Linked DNA regions of Homo sapiens: regions 1 and 3 are each linked to region 2. Evidence: promoter capture Hi-C in human tissues and cell types (Jung and others, 2019). All regions are on one chromosome and are shown on one strand. The core of a region is centred on a gene start or on the middle of the fragment in contact, and the rest is flanking DNA. Distances in the headings are between cores, read along the strand shown.

Region 1 (2,779 bases), core at 50-2,549, 560 kb after region 2:
GTTAATTTTTTTGTATTTTTAGTAGAGACGGGGTTTCGCCATGTTGGCCAGGCTGGTCTCAAACTCCTGACCTCAGGTGATCCACCTGCCTTGGCCTTCCAAAATCCTGGGATTACAGGCGTGAGCCACCATGCCCAGCCAAGAATTTTTATTTGATACATAAACACATGGTATCTTTGGTAAAGTAATACAAGAATAATATTTCAGGATTTCCTTTCTCCATAAATGTTTGTACCTAGCTTTAGCAGTTGTAACACTACTGAGGTTTTTTATGGCTTTTTTAAAACATTGGTTGAGATGGAACTATGGGTGCTGATTTTAATTTTCATATGACCAAATAAAGATGCATGTGACCCCAGGAGGTTTCTTCTAGGACAGCAGTCCCCATATTTTTTTGTCCTATGGTTCCTTTTCATCCTTAAAATTTCTGAGAATCCAATTTGCTTTTGTTTATATGGGTTATTTCTATTGATACTCTTTTAAAAACTAAAACTGAGAGAACTTAAAAATATTAGTTCACTTTAAAATAACAAAGCTTTACATTTTATCATAAATACTTTAGAAAAATTAAGTTTGTTTTAAAAAATAAAATTAATAAAAAGAGTTGCATTTTAAAAATATTTTTGAAGATCTTTTTTGAGCCTGCCTTAATAGAAGACAGCTAGGATGTCATATCCGTTTCAGCATGTACATTGTTGTGATATGTGGTATTAGTTAAAGCATATAAAGAAAATCTGGCATCTCAATATCTATGATCTAGAAAAGGAAGAGTATTTTAATATTCTTCCAGATAATTGTGGCTATCCCTCTTTTACACTACAGCAAAACTCAACAAGTGGTCCTTTCTGAAAGGTTAACTGTAATACGGAATAAGAAACCATATCAATGAACTTTTATTTTCTGTTACATTAAAATCCACTGTTCTTTCTTACTCTTTGAATGGATCTTTTACCCAGGCATAATTTTGTAACATTTGGACTATCTTGATTCCCTGAGTTACGGAGATCTCCCAAATGTTGGTGCATTTCATTATGTAATATCAAAAACACATTCATTAATATCCCCACCATTCTCATCAGAAAAGTCTTTATGTATTGGAAAGTTATGAAGTTCATGGTGGCAAATACAAATTTTCCAAAACTCAAATTGTCACTTGCAAGCTCAAACTTTATCACTGGCAACAAATGCTATCAGTGTTCCTTAAAGTGACAGAAGCAATTTGTTCATTAAAAAAAAAAAAAATTAGCCAAGTAGTCATCTCTTAATACCAACAGTTTGTTCATTGGTCATTCTTTCAGCTGAAAATGGTGTTCCAAGAAAAACATGGTTAGTTCAACTCCACAAATCCTTTTCCTCAAGATAACCATCATAACTCACATGCAGTAGAAGTGTTTTCTATGCATACTTTCCACTTAGTCAAACAGGATTAAAAACATATATGCTCAATAGCCAAGATTTAGCAACAATAATTTATACTATTCTATTGAAGATCCTATCAAGTAAAGCTGGCCTTTTGTTTTTTAAACTGCAAGTGTGTGGCAATGACAATTAATGCAGTTTGAAACCACTTCCTTAATTTTTCCCAAGGCACCAGCTATGTTGCCTACCATTAATTTTGTACTACCATTATTATTATTATTATTATTTGAGATGGAGTCTCGCTCTGTCACCCAGACTGAAGTGCAGTGGTGCAATCTCTGCTCATTGCAACCTCCGCCTCCTGGGTTCAAGAGATTCTCCTGTCTCAGCTTCCTGAGTAGCTGGGACTACAGGCACGCACCACCACACCTGACTAATTTTTGTATTTTTAGTAGAGATGGGGTTGCACCATGTTGGCCAGGCTGGTCTCAAACTCCTGACCTCAAGTGATCTGCCCACCTCAGCCTCCCAGAGTGCTAGGATTACAGGCATGAGCCTTCGCCCTGCCTGCACTGCCATTATTTGACCACAGAAAGGGTTTATATTCATGTTTTTCTTTTTTCTTTTCTCTCTTTTTTTTTTTTTTTGAGACAGAGTCTTGCTCTGTCACCCAAAATGACTACTATCTTCTGCAATAGTGCCTTATGTAACATATCTGGGAAACACTGTATTAAATACCCTCTTTAGTCCTTTCTACTTCAACATCCAATGAAAATTTATGGTTGCATCTATCTGCCATATTATCTCTTTGAACTGACATAACTTTAGGGAATGGAGAAATTTTACCAATTTTTATTAAGCTTCAATATTCTTTTCTATGATTTGTTAATCAAGTTTTTATTTACATCTGCAGTGTCTAACACAGTGCCTGGAACAGGACATGTGTTTTGAAAATGTTTACTGCTTTATATCTTATCACTCTTAAAAGAGAATTGGAGGCACACTTTTGCAAAAACACACACAATATGACAAATGCATTCTAAAACTCCAATCAAACAAAAAGGTACAGCATGAACAATTATAACTGGGTTGTAAATTTGACCCCAAGCTTCCTGAAGTCCAAAGAAACATGAAATTTCAATCAGTCATTATAGAAAAGCCACATTATTGCCCGGGCGTGGTGGCTTATGCCTGTAATCCCAGCACTTTGGGAGGCCAAGGCAGGTGGATTACAAGGTCAGGAGTTTGAGACCAGCCCGGCCAGCATGGTGAAACCCCGTCTCTACTAAAAATACAATAAACTAGCTGGGCATGGTGGCACGTACCTGTAGTCCCAGCTACTCAGGAGGCTGAGGCAGGAGAATTGCTTAAACCTGGCAGGTAGAAGTTGCAGTGAGCTGAGATCGCACCATTGCACTCC
Region 2 (2,869 bases), core at 370-2,869:
ATTCTATGCTACCAAACTGCTCTCCCAAAAGGCAGTTAGAAAAATTTCAATGCAAGTAGTATAGTGTAGTAGAAAAAAGTACCATGGAATTCAATTCAAAATAATTGAATTCAAAAGCAGTTTGGTAGGGCAGCTGGAGACTCAAGCGATTCTGCCTCAGCCTCCCGAGTAGCTGGGATTACAGGCACACATCACCATGCCTGGCTGATTTTTTTGTATTTTTGGTAGAGACGGGGTTTCACCAAGTTGGCCTCGAACTCCTGACCTCAAGTGATCCGCCCACCTTGGCCTCCCAGACTGCTGGGATTACAGGCATCTTTTTTTTTTTTTTTTTTTTTGAGATGGTGCCACACTCAGTCGCCCAGGATGGAGTGCAGCGGCGCGATCTCGGCTCACTGCAACCTCCACCTCCCGGGTTCAAGCAATTCTCAGCCTCCCCAGTAGCTGGGATTACAGGCGTGAGCCACCGCGCCCGGCCTAAAAAATTTCTTGAAGTAAACTCTGGTTTGACTAAAGCTTCTGCAAATATTTGCAAATGTAATTATTTTTAGAAACCAGTTTTGTCCTCATCTACCTTGCCTCAATTTCTAAAACAAATAAAAGTTAAGGAATTCAAAATACAAAAAGAGAAATGATCAAGAGGGGGCTGGCAAGCCTGTGAATTTACACCACTTTATGGGCACTGAAACACTACTACTCATAAAAGTCATATCCTTTCAGTATTTCTGATAAATTTCAAATGGCCTACTTCGAGGCATAAGTTAAAAGGTGCTACATGAATCTCTGGCTAACACAGTCAAGTTTTATGAACTACGTTGGAAAACAGGAGTCAAGGACGGCCTATGTTACCTAATTCGCAGCTGAACTAAAACTCTTTGAGCCAGACAGCTCTGCCTGTTACAAAAACAAAGGGCCTGTCTTCTCTGTCTCTCTCAACCCTCCACCCTCCAAAAAGAATCAGTTCCTTTTTACATAGCAATCAATGTCCACTTATCAGATTTCACGACCTGCTTCCCCAGAGTCAGTATCCCCAGGGTGGACTCAAACTTGTGACTCCAGGAAGGGGATAAGGAACATGAGCGCCCACAGGAATGGCTTCAAATCCAAGACTCGAAGGAAAGTGACACTACATAACTATCACAACTAGGAATGCAATGTCGCTGGAGGGCGTGTCCAGCAGGACGGGAGCGTAGCGCATCGCCGGGACAGGCCATTCATTAGCTGAGGGGGGCGGTAGGGACCCTGGCCACTCGGCCCTCTCCGCGCCGCCTCGCGCGAAGCCCGGCAGCCTCGGGGCCACAGAGTCCCCTCCCCACGGTCCCCCCGCGCCGCCGTCCGCAGCCACCCGCACCCTCCAGAAGGCGAATACTCTCCCCCTGCCCCCGGGCTGAAGGGAAGCCGCACCGCACGGTCGGGCAGCGCCAAGCCCTCCCTCACCAGTCGCTAGATGAAACTGCGCCGGTGGATTCCGCAGGGTCCACATAGAGCCACAAAGGGACTCATCCTCAGTGAAGGCAATAAGAGAAACCGAACGGCGCCAGAGGGGCCAGTCCCCAGACCCGGGTCAGTTCGGCAGGCGGCTGCAATACAGCCGCTACTACAGGAATCGGGAACGGGGATGTAGAGGAAGGGCCCGAGCGGGCGGTTCCCAGTAATAAGGCGGGCGCTGGTTGGCTGGGGCTCCTGTATGTCTCTTGATGATTGGCTGGTGCCTGCCCAGAAGGTTTCGCGTGGCAGCACCTCTGCCATGGCCTTTTCCCTGGCGCCCCAAAGGAACTTGACCTCGCCGGCCTTGGGGCCGCTGACTCAGGCCAGGGGCGGGGAAAAGAAAAAGGCCGCAGCGGGGAACTCTAGGCCAACAACGGTGATGGGAGTGTCCCTTTCAGGCCAGCCATCTCGTAGTTAGAAACGTCTCTCTAGGTAGCTGGAGACTCGCGGGGGAGGCTAAACCCGAGTGGAGAAGGAGACCTGGCAGGATGCCTTGGACACCCGGTCGCTACGCAGCAGAAGCCAAGTGCATAGGCGTCCTGCACAGAAGAGTTTCCTCCCATGGCCTTAGCAGTGGGGTTACTGCAAAGCCAAAGGTGTAGTCTCCGTAAACCCAGCCTCACCCCTCTCTGGATCTCCATACACCCGGATTATCTGGCAGTCACTCCCTTGGTCAGAAGGCGTCACTGCCCTCTTAGATCACCACCGTAGGACTAGCTGCCGACCCGGGTCACGCCACTCACTGCCTGACACCAGGCTTACACTAGGCTTTTTCCACTTGAACTCTGAATCTAAAGGCCATTTAGAAAGTGGTCAAGTGAAAAATGCTAGGAGGGACAGTAGCCAATAATCAATACTAGGTTACTGAATGGGAAACACACTGCTGCTGAATGCCTAATACGGTAAGCACTCAGTAAATGATTGTTCAAGGAGGTGTAGTGTGACTCAAAACAAACGACACTAAGAATCATGAGTTGGCTGTACAGCTCTGCCACGTTGAGTTTTACAAGCCACTGAGTCGACCTCATCTAATCTCTAAAAGAAAGGAGTTGCGCATGTCTTAATGCCCACTGAGCTCTGCTTGCTCTCTTTTGAAGCCTTTTTTGTGGGAGGGTAGGTTACTAGCCCAAAGCCACACAGCTGCTTAGCGAAAGAGAAAGGGAGACTAGGACCCAGCCCTCCTACTGCCCTTCCCAGCACATAATTGTTTCTTTGCTCTTTATTCTTAATGTCCTTCTACAAAACAAAAACCAGTTTGTAATGTCAAAATTGAGTGGTTTTGAAAATAAGCTTAAGTTGGCCGGGCGCGGTGGCTCACGCCTGTAATCCCAGCAATGTGGGAGGCCGAGGCGGGCGGATCACGAGGTCAGGAGATCGAGAC
Region 3 (2,731 bases), core at 59-2,558, 650 kb after region 2:
TGTAAGCCTCGCCCCCACCCCCCCAACCATTTCATAGTCCCAGGTCAAAGTGAAACGTTCCATGGGGGTTCGGACCATGAGAAACATCCTGCCCAACCACCTGACTTTCTTATCATACCCTGCCAGGCAAAGGCCCAACTGAAGGAACATTGCTATCATATCTTGCTGGACAAAGGCCCAAGGAACATCCTATGACATCCCACTGGAAAAAGGGCCAAACCGCCTGATCATAGGAACATCTTATCAATATCCTGCCGGGCGGTAAGCCATACTGCCCAGACCCCTCCCACCCATACCTATAAGTACCCCAGCCTGTAAGCAGCGGTGGGCTCTGGCTGGCATTAACTGGTCCCCCACCTCTGCAGGTCTTGTGCTGCACATAAAACCTGCATTTCTGTAGAGCCGCCAACTCCCTCTGTCTTTAACCCTCACCTTCCCTTCAAAACTTAATAATAATGATTAGGAAAATCCATGTGTTTCCCCTGTCTCTCAGCTGACAAGAGATATTAGAAGCCTGTGAATATACCAGATGAGAAGAGAGGCCAGTAGAGCCTGTTATAATAGACAGAGGAAGGAAGACCAGAAGTCATTGAGTCTGACTTAGGGCTCACTGTGGGCAGCATCCCTGGCAGGCGACATTCTGCTTCTACATAGACAGTTTACAGGGACAGGAAGCTCACAACTGTACAAAGAAGACAATGACGCTGCTTATATTCAAACATGAAGACGATGGAAGAAAACCATTTATCTCTTTTGTAATTCTGAAAATTGCTATGTCATGGCATATTCCAACCAGGAAATACTTAGCATAAGGATAACATTGATAAATGACATTACGAAAATGGTTAAGAGGCCGGCACAGTGGCTCACAGTGGCCTGTAATCCCAGCACTTTGCGAGGCCAAGGCAGGCAGATGGCTTGAGGTTAGGAGTTTGAGAACAGCCTGCCAATATGGTAAAACCCTGTCTCTACTAAGAATACAAAAATTAGCCAGGCATGGTGGCAGGTACCTGTAATCCCTGCTACTTGGGAGGCTGAGGCATGAGAATCACTTGAACCCATATGGTAGAGGTTGCAGTGAGCCGAGATCACGCTACTGCACTCCAGTCTGGCTGACAGACGGAGAGTCTGTCTCAAAAAGAAGAAAAAAAGAAAATGGTTAAGAATTTTAGCTATACAGAATAGTGATTTTCAACTTGAGGTGATTTTGTGTACTGACGGGCGTTTGGCAGTATCTGGAGACATTTTCGGTTGTCAACGTAACTGGGAGGGGGTGCTACTGGCATCCAGTGGACAGAGGCCAGGGACGTTCTCCTACAATGTAGAGAGCCCCTAAAACAAAGAATTATCAGCTAGCCCCATTCAGCCTTTCCTCACCCACAAAATGGGAATTCTAACAGGATGTACATGAAATTTGTAAAACACTTTATTAAGCCTACTTTGATTTTTTTCATCCACAGCACAGTCCTATGGTTTAGTAAAGCAGGCATTTGAATCTTTGTTTTACATATGAAGAAACAGAAGCTCAGAAAACTTATGAAACTTGCTCAGATAGCAAAGCTCTTAGGTGACAATGGTGGGCTTAGAAAGAAATTGATTTCTAATCCATGCTTTTCCCACTATAACTTTACAGATGAATGACAGAAAACTACAGAGGCTTAGAGACTTCCAATCTTTGGTATTGCCTCAACTATCAAAAGATTTCTTTTGCATGCCTGCGAATATGAACTCAAGATGAGGAACAACTACAAAAGAGGCTAAGCTGATTAAATTAAATAATGCAAAATGGACCTTCCCAATGAAAAAGAAAAAGTTTAAAATTTGGCTTAATGTCTTCTTTTCATCTGGTTTTTATAGTTTCATTTGCCGAGCACATTATGTATTTTTAAAGACAACATGAAACTGCAATCATCCTTGGGAACAGGTACTGTACAATGCATTTTATTCCTTATATTTAAAAGACTGTGAGTTAACATATTTCAAACGCTGATTTTGTGTTCCCTACCATTTATCCATGACAAGAAAAATTACTTCCCCTAACTGCCATTTATTTTAAGAGAGGATAATTTTATTTTGTTCCACTACACTGAGAAAGATCTCTGTATTTCATGTTTTTCATTTTATTCCCCAAAGTAAAAGTTTTAAAGCTTCTCAGAGCATATGACTATAGCTGCAGCTTAAGGTTTTGCTGGTTGTTATATTTCTGGAATATAGTTACAACGTATAAATAATTATTTTAAAAAACAAAAGACAACCTTTCCTCTCGGTTATAAGATCTGATTTAGTTCTGTACACCTGAATAGTGACACTTGGAAATGGAGAGAGGGAGAGGATGTTAAGATGTCTAAAAATGATGTCTCTGCTTTGAGTAATCTCTAAAAACAATCTTCTTAAACCACAATAAACATGGCCAGGTTGATGTATCATTGACCAAATGTAAGTTTGGGATGCATTAATACATTTGTGTGACACGTTAAACATTTTTTAATGTTATTTTACCCTAGATAACAAATTTATAATAACTGATTTCTCAACATTGATTTAGAACTTTTTATCCTCTGTTTTGTCTTTTCTTTTTTTTTTTGAGAGAGAGTCTTGCTCTGTTGCCCAGGCTGGAGTAGAGTGGCCTGATCTTGGCTCACGGCAACCTCTGCCTCCCGGGTTCAAGCAATTCTCCTGCCTCAGCCTACTGAGTAGCTGGGATTACAGGCGCATGCCACCATGCCGGCTA

Evidence for each region. The method cuts DNA at HindIII sites, captures the fragments that hold promoters and counts their contacts. A contact is called where the count stands out against the background at its distance.
Region 1: a contact is called between a fragment that was not itself captured here and the fragment with the promoter of IBTK in region 2, in 2 of the 25 tissues and cell types used here (H1 embryonic stem cells and mesenchymal stem cells).
Region 3: a contact is called between a fragment that was not itself captured here and the fragment with the promoter of IBTK in region 2, in 2 of the 25 tissues and cell types used here (lymphoblastoid cells and mesendoderm cells).

What each region holds. Positions count from the first base shown.
Region 1 is chr6:82,810,132-82,812,910 of GRCh38, forward strand. No RefSeq gene overlaps it. Among named protein-coding and RNA genes, the nearest start is that of UBE3D, 250 kb to the right of the region's middle. The HindIII fragment of the contact is 3,331 bases long and covers 1-2,779 here.
Region 2 is chr6:82,246,125-82,248,993 of GRCh38, forward strand. It overlaps IBTK (inhibitor of Bruton tyrosine kinase), which reads right to left and starts at 1,620. Exons shown (of 29, transcript NM_015525.4): 1 at 1,438-1,620. RefSeq lists a silencer at 1,253-1,422. The HindIII fragment of the contact is 4,806 bases long and covers 1-2,869 here.
Region 3 is chr6:82,894,176-82,896,906 of GRCh38, forward strand. All of the region lies in intron 9 of UBE3D (ubiquitin protein ligase E3D), which reads right to left. Among named protein-coding and RNA genes, the nearest start is that of UBE3D, 170 kb to the right of the region's middle. The HindIII fragment of the contact is 3,568 bases long and covers 1-2,731 here.